Regions from separate parts of the Homo sapiens genome. Here all the other regions are linked to region 1. The links are contacts of gene promoters, found by promoter capture Hi-C in human tissues and cell types (Jung and others, 2019). All regions are on one chromosome and are shown on one strand. The core of a region is centred on a gene start or on the middle of the fragment in contact, and the rest is flanking DNA. Distances in the headings are between cores, read along the strand shown. Region 1 holds the start of ATXN10 (ataxin 10). Region 2 has its middle 8.0 kb from the start of PNPLA5. Region 3 overlaps SAMM50 (SAMM50 sorting and assembly machinery component). Region 4 overlaps CERK (ceramide kinase).

Evidence for each region. The method cuts DNA at HindIII sites, captures the fragments that hold promoters and counts their contacts. A contact is called where the count stands out against the background at its distance.
Region 2: a contact is called between a fragment that was not itself captured here and the fragment with the promoter of ATXN10 in region 1, in 1 of the 25 tissues and cell types used here (spleen).
Region 3: a fragment that was not itself captured here is called in contact with the fragment with the promoter of ATXN10 in region 1 in 1 of the 25 tissues and cell types used here (spleen).
Region 4: a fragment that was not itself captured here is called in contact with the fragment with the promoter of ATXN10 in region 1 in 1 of the 25 tissues and cell types used here (dorsolateral prefrontal cortex).

Annotation. Positions count from the first base shown.
Region 1 is chr22:45,670,298-45,673,526 of GRCh38, forward strand. ATXN10 (ataxin 10) reads left to right here and starts at 1,537. Exons shown (of 12, transcript NM_013236.4): 1 at 1,537-1,882. The coding sequence starts at 1,767. RefSeq lists silencers at 1,210-1,399, 1,460-1,509, 1,840-2,169. The HindIII fragment of the contact is 16,564 bases long and covers 1-3,229 here.
Region 2 is chr22:43,898,431-43,901,659 of GRCh38, forward strand. No RefSeq gene overlaps it. Among named protein-coding and RNA genes, the nearest start is that of PNPLA5, 8.0 kb to the left of the region's middle. RefSeq lists an enhancer at 1-209. The HindIII fragment of the contact is 6,967 bases long and covers 1-3,229 here.
Region 3 is chr22:43,960,632-43,963,860 of GRCh38, forward strand. It overlaps SAMM50 (SAMM50 sorting and assembly machinery component), which reads left to right. Exons shown (of 15, transcript NM_015380.5): 2 at 2,655-2,765. Among named protein-coding and RNA genes, the nearest start is that of SAMM50, 6.8 kb to the left of the region's middle. The HindIII fragment of the contact is 9,146 bases long and covers 1-3,229 here.
Region 4 is chr22:46,693,657-46,696,885 of GRCh38, forward strand. It overlaps CERK (ceramide kinase), which reads right to left. Exons shown (of 13, transcript NM_022766.6): 9 at 1,554-1,659. Among named protein-coding and RNA genes, the nearest start is that of CERK, 43 kb to the right of the region's middle. The HindIII fragment of the contact is 4,822 bases long and covers 1-3,229 here.

The sequences.
Region 1 (3,229 bases), core at 287-2,786:
TACTAATAAGTGATCTAATACCTGGCACATAGTACACCGCAATATTCGTGGAATGAATAAATACATACTCAATTAAATGGGTAAACTGAATGACAATATCAAGTAACTTGCTTGTGCAGCAGCATTCATTTCCCTCCCTCCTTTTTTTTTTTTTTTTTTTTTTTTTTTGATACAGGGTATCATTCTGCCACCCAGGCTGGAGTGCAGTGGTGTGATCACAGCTCACTGCAGCCTCGACCTCCTGGGCTCAAGTAATCCTCCTGCCTTGGCCACCCAAAGTGCTGGGATTACAGGCATGAGCCACCATGCCCCACCAGGATTCACTTTTTCTGCATACTCTGGTGGTGTTTATTGTTATCTTTACATTTTATTTAGCAAAGAATGTTAAAAGCGCCATGTTATAAGCACACTCCTACCCTCCAAGCAGAATGTAAAGGGTATGTATTTATATATTTTAAGTGGTCCCACAGCAATTTGTACAGTTATAGCAGTTCACAACTATACTCAGTTATGTTTGCTTCTCTCCTTCTCAATAGTCTGTGAGGTTCCTTCAGGTTTGGAACTGTCTTTTATTAATCTTTACATCTCCAGCACCTAGCGCAGGGCTTAGCAACAATTTTTGTTGAAAGTATATACACTGTAATAAAGGGCAGTGGAAAGAAAATATGTGAGTTATCAACACCAGCTAGAGAAGCCTTGTCTGATTCCTGTGAAATATATTCATTTCCCTTAGGAAAAAAAACAATTCTAACCCTATTGCTGTGTAACTTAGCTTCTTGACTTCGAACGGTATTTTAAGGCTTTGAGGAGCTGGAGCAATGTATACTCACTAGAGGCAAAGTGCCTGGTAAGTGGTCTGGTATTGATCAGCAATGATCAGTAAGTACTGGGAAGTGCGTTTTCAGGGCCTGAGACTTGCAAGCTAGTGACAGACCGCTCCAGCTTCCAGTGGACCCGGGCGGGGGCACTGATCAACCCACTTGAGCAGTGGGATCAAGGTCTTCAGCCTTAGCAGTGGGAGCCTCTGCCCGGCCCCCTTCGTTCCCGAGACCCTCAGTCAGCGTCTCCTCCCAAGAGGGTCCCCTCCACCCAGAATGTCCTCCCCTGGGGGAGACCACTCTGTCTGCGGGCCCCCTCCCACAGGAGGGCCCCTCTTCCTCAAGGTGAACCTCTGTCCCCGATACCCGCTCCCAAGACCGAGACCTTGTTACGGCCCCACCCTCCACAGGCCCCTTACCCCCCGGATCCCCTCCCCTGGGGGAGACCCCTCTGTCCGCGGGCACCCTCCTATAGGACGCGCCCCTCTTTCTCAGGGTGAACCTCTGGTTCCCGATACCCGCTCCCAAGACCGAGACCCTGTTACGGCCACATCAACACAGGTCCCCCTCCCCCCGGCGTCCCCTCCCCTCGGAGGAGCCCCGTCTGCGACGCTTCCCAGTCAATCACCCCCAGCATCCCTCCCCGCTCTCACCCAGAACTTCCGCCGCGCCCCCTCCCCTCAGGCGGGACTTCCGCCGGCGCCCCCTCCCCCGCGGCGCCGTCTCCTCCTCCCGCCTGAGGCGAGTCTGGGCTCAGCCTAGAGCTCTCCGGCGGCGGCGCAGCTTCAGGGCAGCGCGGGCTGCAGCGGCGGCGGCGGTTAGGGCTGTGTAGGGCGAGGCCTCCCCCTTCCTCCTCGCCATCCTACTCCTCCCTCCTCGTCATCCTCCCCCTTCGTCCTCCTCGCCTTCCTCCTCCTCGTCAGGCTCGACCCAGCTGTGAGCGGCAAGATGGCGGCGCCCAGGCCGCCGCCTGCCAGGCTGTCGGGCGTCATGGTGCCGGCGCCCATCCAAGACCTGGAGGCCCTGCGCGCGCTCACGGCGCTCTTCAAAGAGCAGCGGAACCGGTAACGGGTCCGGCCGGGGGGCTGCCCCGGGCAGGGGAGGGCGGCCGGGACTCCCGCGGCGGCCCCGGCCTGGACCCAGGCGCCGCCCCCGCCTCGCTGGAGACGCGGAGGGCGAGGCCTGCGCGGGCTGCCTGAGCGCCACCCAGGCCTCCCGACTCCCAGGCACCGCCTCGTGCTCGTGGGTCCCCGCGGGGCCTGGGGCGGGCGCCCCGCTCCCCCACCGCAGCCAGTCCGGGTGCGAAGCCGCGATCCCGGGAGCCCTTGCCGCGGCGTGCCGGTGATGTTGACCCAACACACGGTTAGGCCTCCCCTGTCATGTGCGAGGGCTGCGCCAGGCCCTGGCTGCAAGACCCACGCGGCCCCCAGAGTCATAAAGCGTGTGTTTTAGCGGGAGAGACCCGTGTTACGGACGCGGGAATTGGGCAGTTGCGGGGATGGCAGTCTCTAGGCATGGAGTGGGACTGGCACTCCTTTCTCCTCGGCGTTAGAGCCCAGGCTGCACCATCTGCCCTGGGGGCAGCGCTCTGTGCAGTGTGGAAGAGCACGGGCCTGGAGAGACCAGTCCAGTCCTGATGCCACTGAGGGGCAAGATAGCCAGGCAAAAAGAGAAGGTGCCCAGGAGTCGACAGTTGTGGATTTGGTTCCTGGCCTTGCAAGCTGCGTGTTACTGTGCAGTTTCTCCAGGCCTTAGAATTCTTGTCTAAAAATGGGACTATAATACACAGCTTAGTTGCTGGATTGTACAGAGGAATAAATGAAATAAAGTACGTGAAAATATAAAATGTGCGAAGCCCTCAGTCAATGCTTGTTTGATCTTGTTCTGTCCTCTGGGCCTCAGTTTTCTTGTCTATTTAATGGGAGTAAAGTTGAACAGTACCTCCCTGGTGATAGTGTCATAAGGAGTAAATGAGATATAATGCATATTAAATCCTTAGGACATACCTGTACATAGCACTAAATGTAGCTGATATTATCACTTAACACATTGATTGGTAGTTACCCATGTATCAGCTATTGTGCTAGGTGATGGGGTAGGAAAATGGAAAGTCCTTGCTCTCTCCTGTACTAGTATGTACAAGATAACACAGCTGTGGGGGTATGTATGTACAAAGCAGAGGGAACATTGAAGAAAGAAATACTGAGACTTGGGTCAGCCTAGGTGATCACTAGAGGACTTCCTCTCTTTAAACTAGACACCTGGTCTGAGCACTTCCTTTACCTCACATCACTTTGGGAAATGTGGAGCTGCTGAAGGAATGCTATTAATAAAAGTCCCTGGTACTGCTCTATGGGCCTTTGGGGGAGATGTATTTATTGATTTAATGCTTAGGCATTTCTGTATCATGA
Region 2 (3,229 bases), core at 202-2,701, 1.8 Mb before region 1:
AGTCTCACGGGGTGTCCATCCTGTGAAACCGACCAAAATGAAATGAAAGGAAGAGAATGAAATAAAAGTCAGCAAGAGATGGGTCAGCTAGTGAGAAAGGCTGTAGCAGAGGCGTCATGGAGAGGGAGCTACTCCATATTTCGTGGTCAGGAAGGCTTCTTGGAGATGATGGGTTTGAAGCTGACACCTAAATGACAAATAGGATATCTGGGGCTAGGGCCTCTGCCAGGCAGCAGAAGCAGCATAAGCAAAGATGTTAGAGCAGATTGGCTGTTCAAGGAAGCAGGACCCTGTGTGGGGAGTGATAAGGAGGAGGGGGCCAGGCTGGAGAGATGATGGCTGATGCAGATTGAGTGTGTAATGTCCCAGGCACCCCTGGAAGCATTTTACCCGGGTTAATTTCTTCAATCCTTTCAGCAAACCACTGCCGTCAGCCCTGATTTACAGATTGGGAAATAGAGGCACAGTGAAATGTGAGATGAAGTAACTTTCTTTTTTTGTAGGGCAGGGGATGGAGTCTTGCTCTGTCACCAGGCTAGAGTGCAGTGGTGTGATCTCGGCTCACTGCAACCTCCACCTCCTGGGTTCAAACGATTCTCCTGCCTCAGCCTCCCACATAGCTGGGACTACAGGCACCTGCCACCATGCCTGGCTAATTTTTTTTTTTTTTGTATTTTTATTAGGGACGGGGTTTCACTATGTTGGCCAGGATGGTCTCGATTTCCTGACCTCATGATCTGCCCGCCTTGGCCTCCCAAAGTGCTGGGATTACAGGCATGAGCCACTGCGCCCAGTGGAGGTGAAGTAACTTTCTAATCATTAGCTGATTACCTCATGACAACTCAGGAGGTGAGGTGCTTGGATTATCTGCATTTCGCACTGAGGCCCAGGGAGATGAAGCAACTTGCCCAGGTTAACCCAGCTGGGAACTGGCAGGCAGAGTGGCTCCAGTCTGTGCCCCAGGCTGCCACCTGTCTTTTCAGGAGGCCCTGTTGTGCCAGAAAGCATTGCACAAGGGCTCTGGGTGGGCTGTCTCCTTCCCCTGGCCCCGGAAGCCCTCTCCTTGCCTGTCTTGGGTGGCTGTGTTGCCAGGCAGTCAGCATGGGCTTTGCAAACTGACAGACGTGTTTCTAATCTCAGCTCTGCCACTGACCAGGTCAGAGACCTTGAACAAGTCACTTGACCCTGCTGTGCCTGTGCCTACTGTATCCCCTCCAAAGCTCAGGTTGAAATTTAATTGCCATTGTGACAGTATTAAGACATGGGACCTTTAAGAGGTAATCAGGGCCGGGTGTGGTGGCTCACACCTGTAATCCTAGCACTTTGGGAGGCCAAGCTGGGTGAATCGCCTGAGGTCAGGAGTCTGAGGCCAGTCTGGCTGACATGGCAAAACCCCATCCCTACTAAAAATACAACAGAATTAGCTGCGCGTGGCAGCAGGTGCCTGTAATCCCAGCTGCTTAGGAGGCTGAGGCAGGAGAATTGCTTGAACCTGGAAGGTGGAGGTTGCAGTGAGCTGAGATCACGCCATTGCACTCCAGCCATTATCCTGTGGGTCCGGCCTGTCTTGCTCTCCCTTCCTCTCCCTGTGCCATGTTATGATGCAGCCAGACATCCCTCACTTGATGTGGCTCCTCAGTCTTGAACTTCCCAGCCTCCAGAACCGTGAGCTAAATAAGTCCCTTTTCTTTATAAATGATTCAGTCTCAGGTTTTCTGTGATAGCAGCAGAAGACCGACTAAGACAGCACTTCAGTCTTCCCATCTGTGAAATGGAGGTGTTCAGGGCCACCTCTCCCTGAGCAATTGTGAGGATGAGATGAGGGATGTGCCAAAGGTGCTGGGCACAGCAGTGGCCGTCACGTCCCAGGACATGGGGATGGTGACTGTCTCCCACAGCAGGTTGCTCTACCTCCAGCTGCCAATCATGACAATAACCAAGCCACCAGCTCCTGGTGCCTTCTGAGGACTCAGCTCCAGAGAGCACTTAACCCTCGACACCCCTGCTGAGTGGCAGGCATATCACCCCCGCTTAACAGGGAGCTGAGACTCAGAAAATTTGCGTAAATAACCCAGGGCCCAGCAGCCAGGAAATGTCAGTGCCAGGATCAGAACGGGGGGGTCAGAAACCCTCCAGTCACACTTGCCCTGTGGTTCCAGAATCGTGCTTTCCTTTCTGTGCGCACCCCACACTCCCCTGCACAGGGAACTGGAAGCCACTAGGCCCCTCACAGAACCTGAGCTCAGATAGGAGCACCCCATGAAGCCTGGGCTCCATCCTCCTGGAGGGGGAAAATAAAGCTTCCTGGCTTGGAAGACAAGGAGGAGGGGATGGGGACTGAGCCCCCAGCAGAGCCCTCTCAGGGCCGAGAGCCAGCCAGCAACACAGTCAGGGAGAAAGTTGCCCAGGAGCTTTGTCTCCAGCACTCTCTGGGTACCCATCATGGGTAGGGGTGGGCCTGGGGGGCTCCAGGTAACCAGCCAAGGGCTGTATGGACAGACCACCCCTGGAACCCGGGCTGCCAAGAGACACGGCACCCAGTGGGGGAGGTGCCAAGCCTGGCATTGGCCAGGGTGCTGGACAAGCCATAGCGTGGCTTGGTGGCCCAGTGAGCAGGCAGAGGAGGCCACAGGAGAGACAAAGGCAGCTAAGGAGTGGGAGCAGGAACCAGGGCCTTGTCACCCTGCCATCACCTTGTCACCAAACCCACGAGTACCTGTCACCCTGCCAGGGCAGACACCTGAGAGGGGCTTTTTTTTTTTTTTTTTTTTTTTTTTTTGAGACAGAGTCTTGCTCTGTTGCCCAGGCTGGAGTGCAGTAGCACGGTTTCAGCTCGTTGCAAACTCCACCTCCCAGGGTCAAGTGATTCTCCTGCCTCAGCCTTCCAAGTAGCAGTGATTACAGACACCTGCCACCATGCCTGGCTGATTTTTGTATTTTTGGTACAGATGGGATTTCACCATGTTTGCCAGGCTGGTCTCGACCTCCTGATCTCCTGTGATCCGCCTGCCTCAGCCTCCCAAAGTGCTGAGATTACAGGTGTGAGCCACTGCGCCTGGCTGAGAGAGGCTCTTGATGCCTTCTCACTCACCCTTGGCTGGTGGCCACCTCCCGCCAATGCTCCTTCCTCAATCCTGACCCGGTCTTTGCTCCATGGTCCAGCCACCCTCCCTCTCAACATGAGTGCCTGCTGGTGCTGTAGCCTTCCAACTGGACCACCCTCTCTCTC
Region 3 (3,229 bases), core at 425-2,924, 1.7 Mb before region 1:
GACATGAGAATGGCTCGAACCCGGGAGGTGGAGGTTGCAGTGAGCCGAGATTGCGCCATTACACTCAAGCCTGGGCCACAGAGCAAGACTCTGTCTCAAAAGAAAAAAAGAAACAGAAGGGGTACCTGTGAAGGTCACAGACTTCAAGTATCAAGAGGTGTCCCTGTGAGAGAGGAACCGATTCTCCCTAAAGAAGCCAGGAATGGCTTGCAGGAGATGACATTAAGGTGGATCTTGAAGCTTCATAGGGGCAAGTTATTCTGGAAGAGGGGGCAAGGTATGCAAAAGCCTGAATGTGCGGGTGGAGCGGGTGGTGGAGATGGAAACTGGAGTAGCAGATGCAGGCCTTACGGCAGAGTTCCTTGTACCCTGCTAAGGAACCTAGATGGATGCTCTTCCTTTAGGTACTTCTGAGGATCATCAGAGGCTTTTAGGGAAGGGCCTGGAAAGGGAATATGATACTGGCAGGTCAGTTACCTTTCCGGGGAAAAGTGGATAGTAGCCCAGAGGCCCCACTGCTCCATATTTGCAGATGTTAAACACACACTTTAAAAGTGCCTAATTGTAGAGAATTCTTGGAGCAAGGAAATAGTCAGATATTGGTTCACATAGTTTTCTCCAAACTTGCTGATTTGTAAGAATCGCTTGGTGCCACACTAGACCTTCTGTGTCCATCTCTAAGAGGTGACTGGGAATCCTCGTGTGGTTAAGCATGTGTCCCAGAGACTTATGGTCAAGCAAACATAGGAACAAATAAGAATTGAATAAATAGTATATGTTAAATATGTAAGTATATATAATACAATGTATACATAAGTATATTTATTTTTATTTTTGAGATGGAGTCTTGCTCTGTCACCTAGGCTAGAGTGCAGTGGAGTGATCTTAGCTCACTGCAACCTCTGTCTCCTGGGTTCAAGCGATTCTCCTGCCTTACCCTTCCAAGTAGTTGGGACTACAGGCACACACCACCACACCTGGCTAAGTTTTGTATTTGTTTAGTAGAGATGGAGTTTCACCATGTTGGCCAGGCTGGTCTCAAACTACTGACCTAAAGTGATCTGACCTCCTTGGCCTCCCAAAGTTCTGGGATTACAGGTGTGAGTCATTGTGCCTGGCCTATTATTTTAAAATAGAGACGAGACTTCATTATGTTGCCTAGCATGATCTTGAACTCTTGGGCTCAAGCAATCCTCCCATCTGGGCCTCTCAGAGTGCTGGGATTACAGGTGTGACCCACCATACTTGACCTTTCTTTATGTTTTATTTTTACTATTATTACTATTTTTAGTAGAGATGAAGTCTCCTATATTGCCCAGGCTGGTCTCAAACTCCTAGGCTCAAGTGATTATGTGTGTGTGTGTGTGTCTGTGTGTGTGTGTGTATGTGATATTATGTTTATGTAGATGTTTCTCAACTATAACCCAATAAACTCATCGTAAGTTGAAATGTAAGTTGAAAATGCATCTAATACACATATCCGACAGAACATCATAGCTTAGCCTAGCCTACTTTAAACGTGCTCACGACACTTACATTAGCCTACAGTTGGGCAAAATCATCTAACACAAAGCCTATTTTAGAATAAAGTGTTGAAGATCTCATGTAGTTTCTTGAGTACTGTAAGTGAAAATCAGAATGGCTGTGTGGGTGCTCGGAGTGCAGTTCCTCCTGAACGCATATCACTTTGGCATCATTGTAAAGTCAAAAAACTGTAAGTTGAAGCATTGTAAGTCAGAGACTGTCTGTCTTAACTATATGTAGATATATATAGAGAGATAGATAAATAGATAGATACAATGTCTTCCTGGAAATATTAGATGAGACACAGCCTACAGAATGCTCATTCAGAAGTTGCTTTAATATTTTGAGGTAATATCAATTCAGATTATAGAAAGAGATGCTTTCGAGTCCATTTTGTGAGCATATGCAGTTCCCTTTAATGTGAATGAGACTTTCTGAAATGAAAAAACCTGTCAGGGTCTACATAAAATGTTTTCTTAGTAATCTGGTTTGTCAAGGTAGCTATCCTAACATGTGTACAATTTTAATTCTAAAAATTAGGATGCTTTCTGTAACAACAGGAGAGCAAATTATTTTCCTTTTTTCCCCTGATAAATGCCTTTGTGGCATTTTATTTTTAAATGATTTTTTAATTTCCATCGGGCCTCAGATGTCCAGAATTAGGTTGGTCATAATCCTTCATCCATGACATGTCATCATGGATTTGTGCGTGACCCTTTTGGTTAATTTTTTTTTTTTTTTTTTTTTTTTTTTTTTTTTAGAGATGGGGTCTTGCCGTGTTGTGCAGGCTAGTCTCAAGCTGCTAGCCTCAAGTGATCCTTTCTCCTTGGCCTCCCAGAGTGCTGGGATTACAGGCATGAGCCACCACACTCCCCCTGCCCTTCCCTGTTAATTAGTTTTTATATTTTATTTAGTGACCACCAGTGAGTTAACCACCAAGCCAAGAACTTGCTCATTAGCAATAGCTGACGGCACCTTTTTACTCCCTGGTCCCTATTCCTGCCCCTACCTCTACTTGAAGGGAACAACTACTGAATTTTCTGCAGCACCATCTAAAGACAAAACTCAAAGGTAAGTGTGTGTATATATGTGACAAAGTCATTTATCTGTGGTCGCTCCCTCCCTTTCAGAGTTTGGAGCCTCTTCCATCAAGTGGACCTGATTTTGGAGGATTAGGAGAAGAAGCTGAATTTGTTGAAGTTGAGCCTGAAGCTAAACAGGAAATTCTTGAAAACAAAGATGTGAGTTTTCTGTTGAAGGTCTTGATAGAATTGTTAGTGGAAACATTCACTTCCATACACCACTAGGGAGATGTAAAGGAATTAACCTGTTTCCGTGCCTTTATCAAAGAAGAGTTTGTAACCACCTACAACTAGAAAAACTGATGACTCTTAGAAAAACAGTTTCTATTTTTAAAGAAGTCGCTCTTCCTTGGTGATTTTTATGTGGGAGGTTTAGACAAACACACTTTTGTATTTATGACAAAAACCAAAAATATATCAAGGACAAACTCAAACTATACTTAAATTTATATTTCCATTCCCTACTCCCAGAAAAAAGACTGTGGGTCTCAAATGAAACTTTTCCTAAATTTATTACCTTTGAAATTTGAATATGCTTTTCCAGTTCTTGAAGAGTTTACTCTCTAGCGAGACTGAGAGGTGAGGGCCAGTTTGAGTCAGCATTTATTGTGCCACCTGAAATC
Region 4 (3,229 bases), core at 368-2,867, 1.0 Mb after region 1:
TTTCAGAATGAGACCTACTTTTACAATGACACATTCAACATGTCCTTCTCTAAAAGGTTTGGACATGAGGAGAAGCACAGCATGAGGACGCTGAGGTGCCACCTGGAGACGGTTTCTGCCTGGCCCTCCAGCTAACATAGCCTGGCTGGGAGAAATGACTGAGGCACTGGTTCCCCCAGCGGACTCCTGGGGTGAGGACTCATTTACTTTCAGAAAACAAATCATACAGGGTTTATCTGTTACAGTCAATAACAAGCAAATAACTCAGAACCATCAGCTTAGAACTTAGTCATTCGTCTAGCACGTCCTTCTGATCTTGGGGGCTGCCGGATTCACGCTGTCAAACAGGACACTGTTTGCACTGATGGAAATCGCTCATCAGCAGCCGAGTTCTTTAATGCACTGACGCAAACAGCATCTGCCTCTACATATTCTGATTTTATGGTCTCCAATTCTTCACTTAAAAAAGGAAAGGAGCTAGAAGGAGGTTCTGAAGTCTGCATGACTTAAAAGGAAAGGACGTGAGTGTCCTTCACAAAGGCGCAGCTGTCTCCACAGCCCCGTGTCCTCAGCCCCAGGCAGAGCAGAGACAGGATGACCATTCAGGCGCCCTCCATGGTCACTAGGGAGGTCATGCGGCCTGGGACAACTATGTTTAGATTTATTTAAGGTTCTATTTACACTGGTCGCATATTACTGAATACACTGTGTGGGGGTGGGGGCGGAGATATGCCAGGTGAAAGGAGTCCCTGCTTGTTCAGTGGCGTAGCCACCATTGCAGAGCCTGCAGTGGCCAAACTGGGGGACCAAATGTAAGGGGAGAGCGCAGCGTTTCCAGCTGTGTTGTCTGCACTCAGCCTCCCCTCCCCGGTGGGGCGCCTCTTTCCCTTTGCATCCCCTCTCCCTGGGCAGCTGCCCTGGCTCTGCCCCCCAACCCCTGGCACCAGCCCTTGTTGCCAGCCCGAGCCTTCTTGCTGAGGGTCCCTGCCTTCCTGTGGGGTTGAAGGCGTGGCTGGCCTGGGCTCTGCTAACCTTAGAGTGGGCTCCTGCCTTGGAGCATGGGGCTAACATGGGTGAGGGTCTCAGCCAGGGGTGTGGACAGGAGGGTGGCTGCTGAGAGTGCACACTTCAGCCAGCTCTACCAACGGTCCTGCCACCAGTGCCCTGCACACGCACAGTCACTGATAAGGTGTCTGCCATCCTTTCCTGCCTGCATTTCTCCTCCATCAGGCCCCTGCAGGGGGTAAAGGGAACCCCAGCAGGGAAAGACCCTGTGCTCAGCCCCCACTCCAACAGTGGGTGTGGGACCCTCCCCCAGAGTCCTCATCCCTGGCACAGCAGCAGCTGCCTGCGCAGGCCATGGGGACAGAGATGGGGACAGCAAGCCCCATGCACGCCTAGGCCATCATGGGCATCATAGGCATCGTGTGTCTGGGCACGCTACATCCGGCACCTTCCACCACATTTGGAAAATACTTCTGCATTCACCTTCCTAACCGTCCTGCTTCATTTCCCGTCATTTGCAAGAGAAACACACAAAGCAATGCACTTACCCTGCCCGGCAGGGCTTCCTATCCCTTGGAGATCCCACCGTGTGTTGTGCAGGGAGGAAGGACACTGTCCCTTCATAGCAGTGGTGGGAGAGGAAGGTCTTTAAACCTGGGAACAGAGTGCAGTGAAGAAAAAACATCCACAAGGGTCATTGCTTGGTTAGGATGCTGTGCTGGGCAGCTTCAGAAATGTCGCTGAGCGCGCATCTGCCTAAACCGTCTGCAGGAGGGAGAGGCCGGGCCTGCTTCAGGCCATGTCACCATTGAAGGCAGTGGCAGGGTCTCTGCCCTCCCTCAGGACAACAGCACGTCTAGTCATAGTGCTGGTGCCTTCTGACACCCAGTGATGCTGGGACAGCCAGGGCTATGGCCACTCTTGACGCTGGCAAAGTGGGGCCTTTGCCATTAGCCACCCCTCATAGCCTCGATGATGTGGCCTGTGGGCTCCAGTGGCTCAGGGTCATCCCCTCCACCTCTTCATGAGGGTCAGTGATGCCCCCACCTGCCTCAGGGCTTGGCCCCCACTGGGGTCAGCCACAGCCCCTGTGACGTCCTGAACAGCTCAGGACAGAGGCCAGGGCCGCTGCCACCCAAAGTCTGGGGCCACCCTCCAGGCAAACGTGTGCGCTGTCCACGGGGCTGCCAGCAGCCTGGCACCCGGGCTGTCTGGGAAACACCACCCAGCAGGACAGCAGGGACTGGGCAGGAGGCAGGAGAGGGGCCCCAGGGTGTCGTGGGCCACACCAGGAGCCAGGCCGTGTCCTGTGAGTCTCAGGGCGACTTCACTCCTCCGTGTCTGATGCTGGGGCTGGTGCTGCCCTGTATGACATCTGGTGTGGCAGTGACGGCCTGCAGGGCCGTCACACACAACCTTACCCCCGACACACAGAGGCCTCACATCCTCATCCGCAGATGGCAAGCCCACAGCCAAGTGTGCACCGCCCAGGGGTGGGGGAAGCTGCCGGCAAGAGCAGTCTGGCTCCTAGGACATCTGTGTGCCTGAAAGTCAGCTCCCGACTGTCCCTAGGACAGCCCCGTCTGTGGGTCTTGCACCTGGCATGGGCCAGGTGCCTGGAATGCACTCAGCGGGCGGGCCCTTCCAGGTGGCTGCAGCTCCGCCTCCCTGCAGAGTGGCTCTGGCCTCTCTCCCTGCTCCTCCCATGGGGGTCCCACAAGGACGTCGTGTCCACGGCCCTGGGAGGAGGCCGACCCACTGGTCAGCAACCTTCCAAGCCGGCTCCTCTCTCAAGTGCAGGGGGCAGGGGGGCAGCTGCCTCATCACCCAGACGCAGCCTCCAGGGTGGCGCCTCACCGACATCTGATGTCCCGGTTTCTGTCTGCCCCTAGATGGGCCCCAGATGTCCTACCGGCACCTAAAACTCCACGTGTCTCAACAGAGTGTGTCATTTCCACACGCTCATTCTCCTTCCATGCCCTCTGTGCTGCTCCAGAACAACCGGGTGCTTTCTGCCTCACAGCCACAGAACCCAAACCCGCTTTCCTGAGAGCATCTCAGGCCCTGTGGCCAGGATGGGGATCCAGAGACCCGGAAGGCGTCTCCTGCCTCGGGGCTCTCATCCTGGTGGGAGGGACAGAGCTGCAGCCACTGCCTGTGGTGATGGGCTGAGGGCAAAGGGGGGGGCCAGGCATGCAGGGGGGCTGCCCACCACCCCACCCCA